Regions from separate parts of the Homo sapiens genome. Here all the other regions are linked to region 2. Evidence: promoter capture Hi-C in 16 types of primary human blood cells and fetal thymus (Javierre and others, 2016). All regions are on one chromosome and are shown on one strand. The core of a region is centred on a gene start or on the middle of the fragment in contact, and the rest is flanking DNA. Distances in the headings are between cores, read along the strand shown. Region 1 overlaps CCNB1IP1 (cyclin B1 interacting protein 1). Region 2 holds the start of EDDM3B (epididymal protein 3B). Region 3 has its middle 18 kb from the start of PARP2. Region 4 has its middle 15 kb from the start of RNASE10. Region 5 has its middle 6.5 kb from the start of RNASE8.

What was found. Contacts are between HindIII fragments. The CHiCAGO score rates a contact against its expected background, and 5 or more counts as called.
Region 1: a fragment that was not itself captured here is called in contact with the fragment with the promoter of EDDM3B in region 2 in 1 of 17 cell types (neutrophils); the score reaches 5.3 in neutrophils.
Region 3: a contact is called between a fragment that was not itself captured here and the fragment with the promoter of EDDM3B in region 2, in 1 of 17 cell types (total B cells). The highest score is 5.9, in total B cells.
Region 4: a contact is called between a fragment that was not itself captured here and the fragment with the promoter of EDDM3B in region 2, in 1 of 17 cell types (M2 macrophages). The highest score is 5.0, in M2 macrophages.
Region 5: a fragment that was not itself captured here is called in contact with the fragment with the promoter of EDDM3B in region 2 in 1 of 17 cell types (M1 macrophages); the score reaches 5.1 in M1 macrophages.

The regions. Positions count from the first base shown.
Region 1 is chr14:20,314,081-20,316,780 of GRCh38, reverse strand. CCNB1IP1 (cyclin B1 interacting protein 1) reads left to right here. Exons shown (of 7, transcript NM_021178.5): 5 at 221-554. The coding sequence starts at 258. Among named protein-coding and RNA genes, the nearest start is that of SNORA79B, 7.9 kb to the left of the region's middle. The HindIII fragment of the contact is 4,318 bases long and covers 1-2,700 here.
Region 2 is chr14:20,767,096-20,769,795 of GRCh38, reverse strand. It overlaps EDDM3B (epididymal protein 3B), which reads right to left and starts at 1,392. Exons shown (of 2, transcript NM_022360.5): 1 at 1,290-1,392. The region is part of intron 1 of LOC107984671 (a long non-coding RNA gene); the gene reads left to right. RefSeq lists an enhancer at 1,405-1,684. The HindIII fragment of the contact is 10,803 bases long and covers 1-2,700 here.
Region 3 is chr14:20,360,455-20,363,154 of GRCh38, reverse strand. No RefSeq gene overlaps it. Among named protein-coding and RNA genes, the nearest start is that of PARP2, 18 kb to the right of the region's middle. The HindIII fragment of the contact is 272 bases long and covers 1,166-1,437 here.
Region 4 is chr14:20,488,790-20,491,489 of GRCh38, reverse strand. No RefSeq gene overlaps it. Among named protein-coding and RNA genes, the nearest start is that of RNASE10, 15 kb to the left of the region's middle. The HindIII fragment of the contact is 5,077 bases long and covers 1-2,700 here.
Region 5 is chr14:21,049,960-21,052,659 of GRCh38, reverse strand. It overlaps a transcript of NDRG2 not described here. Among named protein-coding and RNA genes, the nearest start is that of RNASE8, 6.5 kb to the left of the region's middle. The HindIII fragment of the contact is 1,176 bases long and covers 853-2,028 here.

The sequences.
Region 1 (2,700 bases), core at 105-2,604, 450 kb after region 2:
TGTCTTTACCTTTGTCCTTAAAGCGTTTTTAGAAAACCGGACAAACGAGCACAATTAATATTATTGAGTAACTGAAATCAATATATCAATTATAATAAATACAAGGAATATAATAAAATGTGCAGTATTTTATGATAAAAACGTGCATGTTATATTTCTTTTTTACTTTTATTTTCATTGCAATTTAACTTACTTGGCCTTTTTATTTACCCCTTCTTAGGCCTCTCTTCAGCTTCTGGAGACCTCACTATCCTATTATGTCTTTGTGTGAAGACATGCTGCTTTGTAATTATCGAAAGTGTCGCATCAAACTCTCTGGCTATGCATGGGTCACTGCCTGCTCTCACATCTTCTGTGATCAGCATGGCAGTGGTGAGTTTAGTCGCTCACCAGCTATCTGTCCTGCCTGCAACAGTACCCTTTCTGGAAAGCTAGATATTGTCCGCACAGAACTCAGTCCATCAGAGGAATATAAAGCTATGGTATTGGCAGGACTGCGACCAGAGATCGTGTTGGACATTAGCTCCCGAGCGCTGGCCTTCTGGACATATCAGGTTAGTGCTTAGTCTAGTTTCTCTTGAGCATGTGATTTATGGCATTTGTGGGAACTTCTAGTGTCTTTCCTTCATTGTATTATTATTAATTTTTTATGAGTATATGAGAAACTCTTTTTATTAAATTGTTTTCAAAAGCAATACTGTTTATTGTTGAAAATCAAAAGGAAGAAAATTAAAGCACTCATAATTCCATCACTCAGAGATAACCATTGTTTATATTTTGGGTATACACACACACACACTCACACACTCTCTCTCTCTTCTGTATAAAAGTAAGATAACACACACACTTTTATTGTTAAGAGTTGACAGTATATTATATCTGGTATGAATTTTTCTTCCTTTTGAGACGGGGTTTTCTTGTGTTGCCCAGGCTAGTCTCTAACTCCTGGGTTCAAGCCATTCTCCCGCCTCAGCCTCCTGAGTAGCCTGTGCTTCACTTGGTATGAATATCTTGTTAAATATTTTTTAGTTAACTATTCTATAATCATATTTTAATGGTTATATTGTATCATAATTTATTTCCAAGTTATTAAAATGCTATGATAAGCATTCTTATCAAATACGCATCCTTAACTTTTTCCCTTTATGATTTCTACTTTTAGTATTTCCTTTGAAAGACCTCCCTGTGGATGACTTTAAGCATGTCCTTGAATGTATTGTTATATCTTACATATACACTTATACTTCTTAAGGATGTTTGTCATCTGTCAAGTAACTTTTTATTATATTTTTCTGGGTAAGTTGTTTCTCTTACATGCTCCTCTATTTTTCAACTCCTTTGGTTAAATACCAAATAGTGTTTTTGCTGGCTTATGTGGTGAGAGTATGTTTATTTTTGTAAGCAACTGCCAAATTGTCTTCCAAAGTGGCTATACCATTTTATATTGCCAGCAGCAATGAATGAGAATTCCTGTTGCTCCACATCTTTGCCAGAAGTTGGTATTGTCCATGTTCTGGGTCTTGGCCATTTTAATAGGTGTATAGTGGTGTCTCATTTTAATTTGCATGTCTCTGATGACATATGATGTGGAGCATCTTTTCATATGCTTTTTTGCCTTTTTTTTTTTTTTTTTTTTTTTTTTTTGGTGAGGTGTATATGAAGTTCTTGGTCTTTTTTTTTTTTTTTTTTTGAGACGGAGTCTCGCTTTGTTGTCCAGGCTGGAGTGCAGTGGCGCGATCTCAGCTCACTGCAAGCTCTGCCTCCCGGGTTCACGCCATTCTCCTGCCTCAGCCTCCCGAGTAGCTGGGACTACAGGCGCCCGCCACCACGCCCGGCTAATTTTTTGTATTTTTAGTAGAGGCGGGGTTTCACCGTGTTAGCCAGGATGGTCTCGATCTCCTGACCTCATGATCCGCCCACCTCTGCCTCCCAAAGTGCTGGGATTACAGGCATGAGCCACCGCGCCCGGCCGAGTTCTTGGTCTATTTTTAAATTGTTTTCTTATTGTTGAGTTTTAAGTGTTCTTTTTATCCTTACTGTTGAGTTTGAAGTATTCTTTGATCCTTTATCAGAGCTATCTTTTGCAAATATACTCTCCTGATCTGTGGCTTGTCTTTTTATTCTCTTACAGGGTCTTTCACAGAGCAGAGATTTTTAAGTTTAATGAAGTCCTGCTTATCAATTTTCTCTTTCACGGATTATACCTTTGGTGTATTTTAAAAGTCACTGCCAAATCCAAGATCCACCTGGATTTTACCCTATGTTATCTTCTGGGAGTTTCATAGTTTTGCATTTTATGTTTAAGTCTGTGAACCATTTTGAGTTTATTTTTGTGAAAAGTATAAGATCTGTCTAGATTCATTGGGTCCTCAATTTTTTGCTGGCTATTGGCCAGAGGCTGTTCTTAGTTACTTGTCTCTTGGGCCTTCCTGACATGACTGCTTGCTTCCTCAAAGCCAGCAAGGGAGTGTGTCTCCTAGTAAGACAGACCTTATAGTCTTAGGTAATATACTTATGAAGTGACAACCTGTCACATTTTCTGTAGTATTCTAGTCACAGGTCCTGCCCACGTGCAAGGGGATAGGGAGTTACACAAGGGTGTATGTACCAGGAGACGATAATTTGTGGTTGTCTTAGAGTCTATTCTTCATGCTCTGGATTACTTGAAAAATGGGATTATATTTCTTAAAAACCTTTGGA
Region 2 (2,700 bases), core at 143-2,642:
CATGTGTCCAAAAGAGAATGATATTTTAAGGTTTATGTCCTTGAAGTGGAAAGGGTTGTCAGATTTTAGGGAAATGTAGAAAATGAGTAACTACTTGGGAAGTGGTTCCTAGGTAGGAAGGCTTCGATTCGCTAAAATGACAGCCTAGCCTGCAATTACTTCTTGCCTGCTTCTCCAATTACTTAATGATGCTTCTCCAATCTTGACTTCCTTATAACACTTTCTCCAAAGCCTGAGTGGAACGTATGTTCATTACTAACTACCCATATTCCTTCTCAGGGGTCATTCCCCTAATTATCACTATTACAAATGATCTTGGTTTGTCAGAGCTGCTCCTTGAAAATGTCATCATAAAATAACTCCAGTTTTGAGGTTTTTATTTGTTTATTTATTTTTGAGACAGAGTCTCACTGTGTCACCCAGGCTGGAGTGCAGTGGCACAGTCTTGGCTCACTGCAACCTTCACCTCCAGGGTTCAATAGATTCTCTGTCTCAGCCTCCCACGTAGCTGAGATTATAGGTGCCTGCCACCACACACAGCTAATTTTTGTATTTTTTTTAGTAGAGACAATGTTTCGCCATGTTGGCCAGGCTAGTATCAAAATCCTGGCCTCAAGTAATCTACCCACCTCGGTTTCCCAAAGTGCTGGGATTCTCAGGCATGAGCCACTACACCCAACCAGAATTCCAGATTTGAAATATTCCTGTAATCAATCAAGCACCAAGACTAAAAGAGCCCCCACAGTGGCTTCTGTGGTGATAGCATGGAGTGTGGGGATCTTTTTGAAAGAGTCTACCGTTTAAACTAGTGCTCTGTCCTCATTTACCATGAGAAGTGTTCCCGCCCTTACTGAATCTCTAACCTGATTCACAACTCTGAGCATTGGTGTCCTCAGATGGACTTAATAATAGCTCCCTACAGACCTGCAAGTGTCTAATGAGACGCATGTATTTGAGAGCACTTCTAATGATGTCAAATGTCCACATCAGACACAGAACAAAGGGTCGGTACTTCCTATCTGTGGAACCCTGTCCTGATGATAAAGACCTACAGAGGATAGAAGAGCAGGATGTAAGCGGTTTTAATGCATTGTGTTTGAGAAGACTGGGGGTGAAGGAAGGGAGGGGCAGGGAAAGCCTGTATCAGTGGGACTGAGGCTGACCAGAATTCACACCTTTGTTTTCCATGATTTGGATCCTTCTCCATTGTTTGCTATCTAAAAGTTCAATCAGCCTCCTTTCAGTGCTCCTGGCTGTCCCCCAAACATCCTCAGCAGAGCCCTTCTTACCCTACTCAGACTCCAAGTTCAGGTCACTGGTTGTAGTTGGGATCAGTGTGTGGATCTGAAGAGCAGAGTCTGAGTCCTCCTTTCCTCAGGGCCCTGGAAATCTGCAGCAGTGGAGAAAGGAATAGCAGGGGGAGCTGCAAGGCTCCAGCTGATTGGTAGTGGAGGTGGTGATGGGGAATAGCCTTATTATGTGAACTTGTTCCTGTATCTTCTCATCTGGAACACTTGAGTTTATTCAGACAGTGGCCTCAAGCAAAGGCTACAAACATCAAAGGCTGACTCCAGGGCACAGAAGAAGTGCAAGACCCTAGAGTGAGGTGACCCCAGAAAGGGGTTATCTGGTGCTATCAGTAGACAACGAGAGACCTGGCTTCTGCACTCAATTTCTGACAAAGTTCTGGGAAGTCCCTGGAGGGTTATGCTATGTTACACAGAAACTTCTCTGAAGAAAGCCACTTATAACATTGTGAACTGTGGGACTTTCGTTGAGAGGTGAAAGAGTATCTAGTGAAACTGGTGGCCAGATAGTTATGATTAGGTAGCCAGTATCTGAAGTTTTACTAGGCAGTTTGTTATTGTCGATGAAACGAGTCAGCTGGGTGTGGTGGCTCACGCCTGTAATCCCAGCACTTTGGGAGGCCAAGGCGGGAGGATCACCTGAGGTCAGGAGTTCAAGACCTACCTGGCCGAGGTGGTGAAACCCCATCTCTACTAAAAATACAAAAATTAGCTGGGCGTGGTGGTGGGCACCTGTAATCCCAGCTACTTGGGAGGCCGAGGCAGGTGAATCGCTTGAACCTGGGAGGCAGAGGTTGCAGTGAGCCGAGATCACGCCATTGCACTCCAGCCTGGGCAACAGGAGCAAAACACCATTTCAAAACAAAAGAAAAGAAAAAAAAAAGAGTCAAACTCTGTAAAATATTTGAAGAGATTTATTCTGAGCCAAATATGAGTGACCATGGCCTATGACACAGCTCTCAGGAGGTCCTGAGGACATGTGCCCAAGGTGGTTGGAGCACAGCTGGTTTTATACATTTTAGAGAGGCATGAAACATCAATCAAATACATTTAAGAAATACATTGGTTTGGTCCAGCAAGGCGGGACAACTCAAAGCTGATGGGGAGTGGAGGGCCTCCAGGCCATAGGTGTATTTAAACATTTTCTGGTTGACAACTAGTTTTGTCTAAAGACCTGAGATTGATAGAAAGGGAATATTCAGGTTAAAATAAAGATGGTAGAGACCAATTCTTTCGAAGTCTTATAGTGGCTGCCCTTAGAGACAATAGATGACAAATGTTTCCCTTTCAGATCTTAATTAATATCTTTAGGATTGGAAGGTCTGGAAGAAAAATATTTAGCTATGTTAATAGAGATTCTTTACAGATGCAAATTTTCCCCCACAAAGAACAG
Region 3 (2,700 bases), core at 52-2,551, 410 kb after region 2:
TACTCAAGGGGAAGGAAAGAAAACCTCTAGAAGAGAGAGGTATCAAAGAAATTTATACATCTGGAGGTAGGTTTTTTGAGGCTATGCAAATATCATTTTCCCGACTAATCTTAGCATTCATCCATGGATCTTGACTGCAGTATTATTAGTGCGGTTTTCTAATCATGATTTTCTATTCACCTCCATTTTCCCTGATACTTTCTATTTCCCTTTGACATTTAGTTATTGAAATTATTTCTGATTTCCTTTCTTTTTTTGAGACTGGATCTTGCTCTGTCACCCAGGCTGGAGTGCAGTGACATGATCAGAGCTCACTGTACTCTCAAACTCCTGGGTTCAAGTGATCCCCCTATATATATATATATATTTATATTACAAAAACTTGGTATATTTTTATTGTGATATAATTCATTTTCTTTTTGTTGTTGTTTGTTTGTTTGTCTGGTTTTTTTGAGACAGGGTCTTACTCTGTTGCCCAGGCTGGAGTACAGTGGTGTGATCTTGACTCACTGCAACCTCCGCCTCCTGGGTTCAAGCGATTCTCCTGCTTCAGCCTCCTGACTAGCTGGGATTACAGGCATGTGCCATCACGCCCGGCTAATTTTTGTATTTTTAGTAGAGACAGGGTTTCACCATGTTGGCCGGGCTGGTCTTGAACTCCTGGCCTCAAGTGATTCACCCGCCCTGGCCTCCCAAAATGCTGGGATTACAGGCGTAAGCCACCGTGCCTGGCCTGTAATTCATTTTCACCCTTATGAAGTGTACGGTTCTGTGGTTCTTAGTATATTCACAAATTATGCAACCATTACCGCTAATCCTGGAACATTTTAATCACCCCACCAAGAAACCTTGACTCCATTAGCAATCACTCCCCTCTCTCTTCCTCCAGCCACTGGCAACCACTAATCTACTTTCTGTATCTATGAATTTGCCTAGTCTGGACATTTCGGATAAATGGAATCATATAATATGTGACCTGTGTGGCTTCTTTCAATTAGAATAATGTTTTCAAGGTTCATCCATGCAGTATCAGTACTTCATTCCATTTTATGACGGAATAATATTGCATTGGATGGATATACTTTTTATGTTTTTACAGCTTTATTGAGTTATGATTGGCATGCAATAAACCACACATATTTAAAATACACAATTCGATAAAGCTTGACATATATATATATTAATAAAATTATTACCACGGTCAAGATAGTTAACATATCTAACAGGAATAAACCACATTTTGTTTATCCATTTATTGGTTGATGGATGTTTGGAGTGTTTCTACTTCTTGGCTATTATAAATATTGTTGCTATCAATATGCATGTACAAATTTTTGTGTGAACATTGCTTTTTTATTCTCTTGGTTATACACCTAGTAGTGGAATTGCTAGGTCCTGATAACTCTTATGTTCAACTATTTGAGGAACTGCCAAGCTTTTCCAAAGCAGCTGCACCACTTTATATTCGCACTAGCAATGTGTGAGGATTTTTATTTGTCCATATCTTTGCCGAGATTTGTTAGTCTCAGGCCTTAGCCTCCTGAGTAGCTGGAATTACAGGCAAATGCCACCACGCCTGGCTAATTTTTCATATTTTTGCTAGAGATGGGGTTTCACCATGTTGGCCAGGCTGGTCTCAAACTCCTGACCTCAGATGATCTGCCTGCCTCTGGCTCCCAAAGTGCTGGAATTACAGGCGTGAGCCACCACACCCGGCCAAGAGTTTTAAATTTTGACGAAGACCAACTTATTTCTTTTGCTTGCTTGTGCATTGGTGTCATATTTAAGAAACTGTTGCTTAATCCAAGGTCACAGAGATTTCTCCTTATGCTCTAAGAGCTTTTTAGTTTTAGCTTACATTTAGGCCTTTGATCCATTTTAATTTTTACGTAGTGTGAGATAGTGTTCCTAATTTATTACTTTGCATGTGGATATCCAAGTCGTCCCAGCACCATTTGTTGAAAAGACTATTTTTCCCCCATTGAATGGTCTTGGCACCCTTGTTGAAAACCAATTGACCATATTTGCTTGGGTTTATATCCAGACTCTCAATTCTATCCCATTGATTTCTATGTCTATCCTATGTCATTATCACATTGTCTTGAGTACTGTAGCTTTTTCAAGATTGTTTTTGTTATTCATGATCTTTGTAATTCCTTATGAATTTTTCTTGGCCATTTCTGCAAAAAAAAAGGATAATGGAATTTTAATAGGAATTGTATGGAATCTATAGGTTGCTCTGGGAAGTATTACCATTTTAATAATAAATTTTCCAATCTACGAACACTTGTAGATTGAAAACTACAGAACTGTTGACAGAAATTCAAGACCTAAATAAATAGGTCTTAGCTGGGTATGGTGGCTCAAGTGTGTAATCCCAGCACTTTGGGAGACTGAGGTGGGCCTTGAGGTCAGGAGTTCAAGACCAGCCTGCCAACATGGTGAAACCCCATCTCTACTAAAAATACAAAAATTAGCTGGGTGTGGCGGTGCACACCTGTAATCCCAGCTACTTGGGAGGCTGAGGCCGGAAAATCACTTGAACCCGGGAGGCAGAGGTTGCATTAAGGGAAGATTGTGCCACTGCACTCCAGCCTGGGCAACAGAACAAGACTCTGTCTCAGATAAATAAATAAATAAATAAATAAAGGTGGCCTTGAATGTTTTTCAATAGTTTTGTAGTTATCAGTGTACAAGTTT
Region 4 (2,700 bases), core at 179-2,678, 280 kb after region 2:
CTCGCCAGAAGAAACTCTGCCTTTTCTGAACTTTTTTTTTTTTTTTTGAGACAGAGTCTCACTCTGTTGCCAGGATGGAGGGCAGTGGCGCGATCTCGGCTCACTGCAACCTCTGCCTCTTGGGTTCAAGCCATTCTTCCATTCTTCTGCCTCAACCTCCTTAGTAGCTGGGACTACAGGCATGTGCCACCATGCCCTGCTAATTTTTTTGTATTTTAGTGGAGACAGGGTTTCGCCATGTCAGCCAGGATGGTCTCGATCTCCTGACCTCATGATCCCCCCGCCTTGGCCGCCCAAAGCGCTGGGATTACAGACGTGAGCCACCATGCCTGGCCAGCACTATTTTGAGTTCACAGACTAAGTTCACTTGGGATGGCAGATACTGGCTGATATGGTTTGGTCGTGGTAGTGAATAAGTCTCACGAGATCTGATGGTTTTATCAGGGGTTTCCACTTTTGCATCTTCCTCATTCCCTCTTGCCTCCTCCAAGTAAGAAGTGCCTTTCACCCTCTGCCATGATTGTGAGACCTCCCCAGCCATGTGGAACTGTAAGTCAAATTAAACCACCTTTTCTTCCCAGTCTCTGATATGTCTTTATCAGCAACATGAAAACGGACTAATACACTGGCACAGAAGTTAGCACAGAAGAGTTGTCCGTTAAGGTTTGGTGAAAGAGACAGGAAAGGAGAGGAAAGGGAAGGAAGGAAATAGGGAAGAAGGGAGGGAGGGAGCCCTGAGCAATGCGTGGAGGTCAGCAGTTAAGATTAGCTCAGCAGGAAGGAAGCGTCCTGGGCTTCCGTGAGAGGTGACCTCTGACAGGCTTCCAGGTTCCTGTGCTCTTTGAGAGAGTCTTTCTTATCCCCTCACCCAGTATACAGGTACTTTGGCCTGGCCTGGCTGGCCAGATATGCAGTCGAGGTTTTACCTTCAAAGATGACAGCTAGAGAAATAAGAAAAGGGAAAGCATTCAGAATCCATTATAAGACGTACTGATAAGTAACACACATGCAGATCTTATGAATTAATGTGGATCTTCATAGGTAAGATCTTCATAATGGCAATGCTATTATGTAAGAGAATGTCCTTATTCTTAGAGATGCGTGCCAATATATTCAAAAATGGACTGATAGGCAAATTGTCTGCAGCAATTTACTTTCAAATGGCTCAGGAGAAAACAAATGTATGTAGCAGATTATTGACTATTGATGGTTTAGGTGAGAGGTACACTAGTGTTCATTACATGATCCTTTCTACTTTTCCGTAAACTTAACGATATTCCAAGTAAAAAGTTCAGGACAAATGGGCATTAGAAATTTTCTCTAAAATGTATAAAATCCATAGTAAGCACACCTAGCTGGTAACAGCGCTTGCTTATCTTGGCTGAGAGGATAAGGGGTTCTTCCTTGCTTTTTGGTGTGTGTGTGTGTGTGTGTGTGTATGTGTGTGTTTAAGGCCACAGCTAGGACCCTTCTTTCTGCCCCTCTGGCCTCTTTCACTGCACCAAACCACCTGCTCCTGGGCCCCAGCAAAGCAATCCCCCTATGAACAACATTTCTCAACAAGTGTTTCTGTGCCTGTTAGTAGCCCCACACGCTTCTTCCCCACAAACCCTTTCCTCATACACCATTGCCCACACAAAACACACCCCTTTCAAACTGCTGTTCTGGAACAAATGGCTTTCTTCTCTACTGAGTGCACCTCTGCCCAAGGCTTCCACCCACAAACGATTCTTTCTCTAAAGTTCCTGTGTAACCCTACCCCACCCATCCTCTCTGAATCATTGCCTCAATCCCCTGAGGTCTATCTTGCTGCAAATTGAATTCCTGCTGGTGTTGAGCCTGAAAATTTCTCAGTTTGCTAAGCTAAAGAGTTGCCCTTCCGTGATGGATGAAGCAGTGAATTGCTTCCACTTTTGTCTAGGATCGGGCACAGACCTTACTCTTTCTGCCCTAGCACCCCAGCTCCTCAGGTCCCACTTCAGTGGCATCAAGCAGAAGTGGACATGCATGGATAGATATATAATTATTGAAACATGAAAGCACAGTGTAACATCCCACCCTCCTTCTGTAGAACTAGAGTGTTGTGGAACTATAGTTGTTGCTATTCAGGTTTTTGCAGATAAAATATCTTGAAAAGAATTTTAGAGGTCATAAGGTCAACTATTTCTCTCTACAGCTTTGTCAAATATTCCTCTAGCCCCTATTTCAACATTTCAGGAATGTAACGTAACAATGTCTTTTTTGTAGAGCTCTTTTTCTAATATTGAGTGGGCTCTCCTGTCCTAGTCAACTCTCCAAAGTTGCACAGAGTAAATTTGATTCTTCTATATAAATAAGTTTAAAAATAATATAAGGCCAGGTACGTTGGCTCATGCCTGTAATCCCAATACTTTAGGAGGCCGAGGTGCTAGGATCACTTGAGGCCAGGAATTCGAGACCAGCCTGGGCAACATAGCAAGACTTTGTTTCTACAAAAAAAATTTTTTTTAATCAGCTGGGTGTGGTGATATGTGCCTGTAGTCCCAGCTACTCAGGAGTTTGAGGCAAGAGGATTGCTTGAGCCTTGGAGTTCAAGGATGCAGAGAGCTATGATCATACTAGTGCATTCCACAGAGCCTGGGTAACAGATCAAGATTCTATCTCTTAAAAAAATCATAATAATAATATTAATAGAAGACAGTTCTTCACTACCTCCTTTCA
Region 5 (2,700 bases), core at 191-2,690, 280 kb before region 2:
CTCACCTTGCGTCCAGTCTACCCATTCCGTATGAGTGGCCTCCCTATCTTCCCTCCGAACACAAACTATTCTAACCAAATTCTATCCTAATAACCTGATTTTCCTTTTGTCTCCAGCACATGTTTTGCTCTCTTCAGCTTTGCTTCTGTTTCCCTCTTCCCTGCAAGTCCTCCCTCAAATATTATCCATCCTTTAGAACTCATCTTGACCATATGAGTTTGCTCAGGATCACATTTACGAACCTTGCCGTACAAATCCTAACCTCCTTTAGCATTAACTGTTTCATAGTATCACTCATTTGGGTTCTAAATCGTGTACTACCTTGTTTTGCTATTTAACTCTTTCATCCAGTAAGAGCATCCAGTCTTCCCAACTAGACGGTAAACTCGTGGGACAGGAATCAGGTCCTTCCGTGCTTCTCTGTCTTCATAGTGCCAGGCACATGGCTAGCTCACAGGAGCACTCAGTAACCGTGCATTGAACTCAGTCATCACTCTGATCCTCTCAGTCTTCTTACTATTTATAACACAAGGAGTTTCAGTTGAATAATGTCTAAAATGCCCCCTGGTTCTGACACTTGTGTGACACAAGAAAAAACATCAAAGTGCTAGTAAGTAGCCAGCACCTTACTAGTATGAAGGAGAGGCCTAATAGTAGACTCTGAAGGTGCCTTGAAAGAAGGGGAGCAGAGAATAAGCAACTATCTCCCAAAGACCCATTCTTTCAGGATACCCCAGGAGGGCTGAGCGAGGGTGCCAGAGAAGTTTGCCTGGTTTGCTGGCCTGAAGGACAGCAGTACCACGAGGGTCGTCTTTGAACTACAAGTGCCACCCCCATAGGGTTTTTCAAGCTTCAACCTTCAAACAGCCTCCTGGTGGTGACAGACCTGTGGTCTGGGCCCTGGTTTATGGCTCTGAGAAGCAGAGCTCCATCACATGGAATCCAGTGGCCACATTCCTTTTGGGAAGCCCTCCTCTGTTTCCAGTGGCTAACCCTGTCTCCTGCCAGGTCCATTTTTCTTTTCTATGTAGTTCTTTGAGGCCTTCCTATGGTGCCCATTTGCACTATGAGCTTGTCTCTGCGGGAGGACTGTCTCCCTTTGTTCCTCACTCCTGGATTCATCTTCATGAGGGAGAGGATGTAGTCTTCAACCCAACCAGAGCTGAGGCATATGGCTCCCTGGATACGCCAGTTCCCCTCATAGGCCGGCTGCCCTCCTGAGACCTCTGACTTACCACAACAAGGCTGCGTGCAGCCTTCAGCCCTGCTAGGAATGATAGGGGTCATAACGATAAAAACAATCATAGTTAACATTTACTGAGGCTTTTCTATGTTCCAGTCACTGTTCCAAGTGCTCTATGTCTATTTTCTCATTTTTCAGCATGAAAAGGACCTTTCCAATGCCCTAGCCCCATGACTACCCTATCTTCCTCAACCAGTTCTTGAAAAGAAACACTGGTCAGAGACAGAAATCCACAAAGAGCAAGTTAAGGAAAACATTAGAGCCAGTGTACTGCTACCCCAGGTGGAACACAGATGTGTGCAGAGGGTACACAAAGTCACAAGATAAATGTGTTCTTTACAATTTTACTAAAACCATCTTTTTAGGGGATGGGGAGTAATTTAAGGCATTATTTTTACAGAAAATAACTTTGTATGATAGAAAAATTCAAATGAGTTACATTAAATTTTTTTAGCATTTTCACTTTGAAATAATTTAAAACGTATATAAAAGTTTCAGAAAGCATACACAGAGCTCCCCTATATGCTTCACCCAGTTCCCCAATTATTAACATTTCTGAGCTATTTCAGAACAAGTTACAGACATGATGCTCATTACCCCTTAATACTTCAGTGACTATTTCCTAATTACAAGTACTCTCGTGTGCATAACCACAGTACAGCCACCAAAAAGGGGAAATTGACATTGATCCATTATTATTATTACCACAAATGAAATTTAAAGATAGCATATAAAACACTCATATGCACGGCTATTTTATAAATATTAGTTAAGTGAAAGAAGCTTCAGAGAAAGCCCAAGCTCATTGGGCACTACTTTAGGTGTTTTAGTTCATCTTCCTCTGTGGTTACTAGCACTTCAGGGGAAATTCTGGGAAGCATTGCTCTGCAGGTTCTAGTTGACCATGAAGATCCTGTTCTGGATATGCCAAATTCAAGGGTAAAAAGTGGTAACCCTTACCAAAGATAAATGCTTGGGATATCTCAGGCCCACCCGGAGCTCCACCAAACAGGATCTCTGTAATGTTTTCACCCTGGTCCGGAGTAGCAGATGGGAGGTCCAGGCCCTTTTTCTTGTTGCATATCCTTATTTATGTTTCCAGCAGCCAATGGCACGGCCAGGGACATGCTTGACTAGTTTGCCATCAATTCCTCATGTACTGTTTTTTTCCCATCTCAATGATACAATATGAGCATTCAGGTGAAGGTCAGAAATGCAACGTGTCAGGATTACGGGCACTTAATACTCTTTTGGATGAACATGCTTTTGTCTCAAATCCGGGGGTCTGCCCATTTGCAGATTGATTTGCCAGTCCATGTATGATTTGATCTTGAAAGATATCTGGGCTGGGCACAGTGGCTCACCTGTAATCCCAACACTTTGGGAGGCCAAGGCAGGCAGAACATGAGGTCAGGAGTTCAAGAGCAGCCTGACCAACATGGTGAAACCCAGTCTTT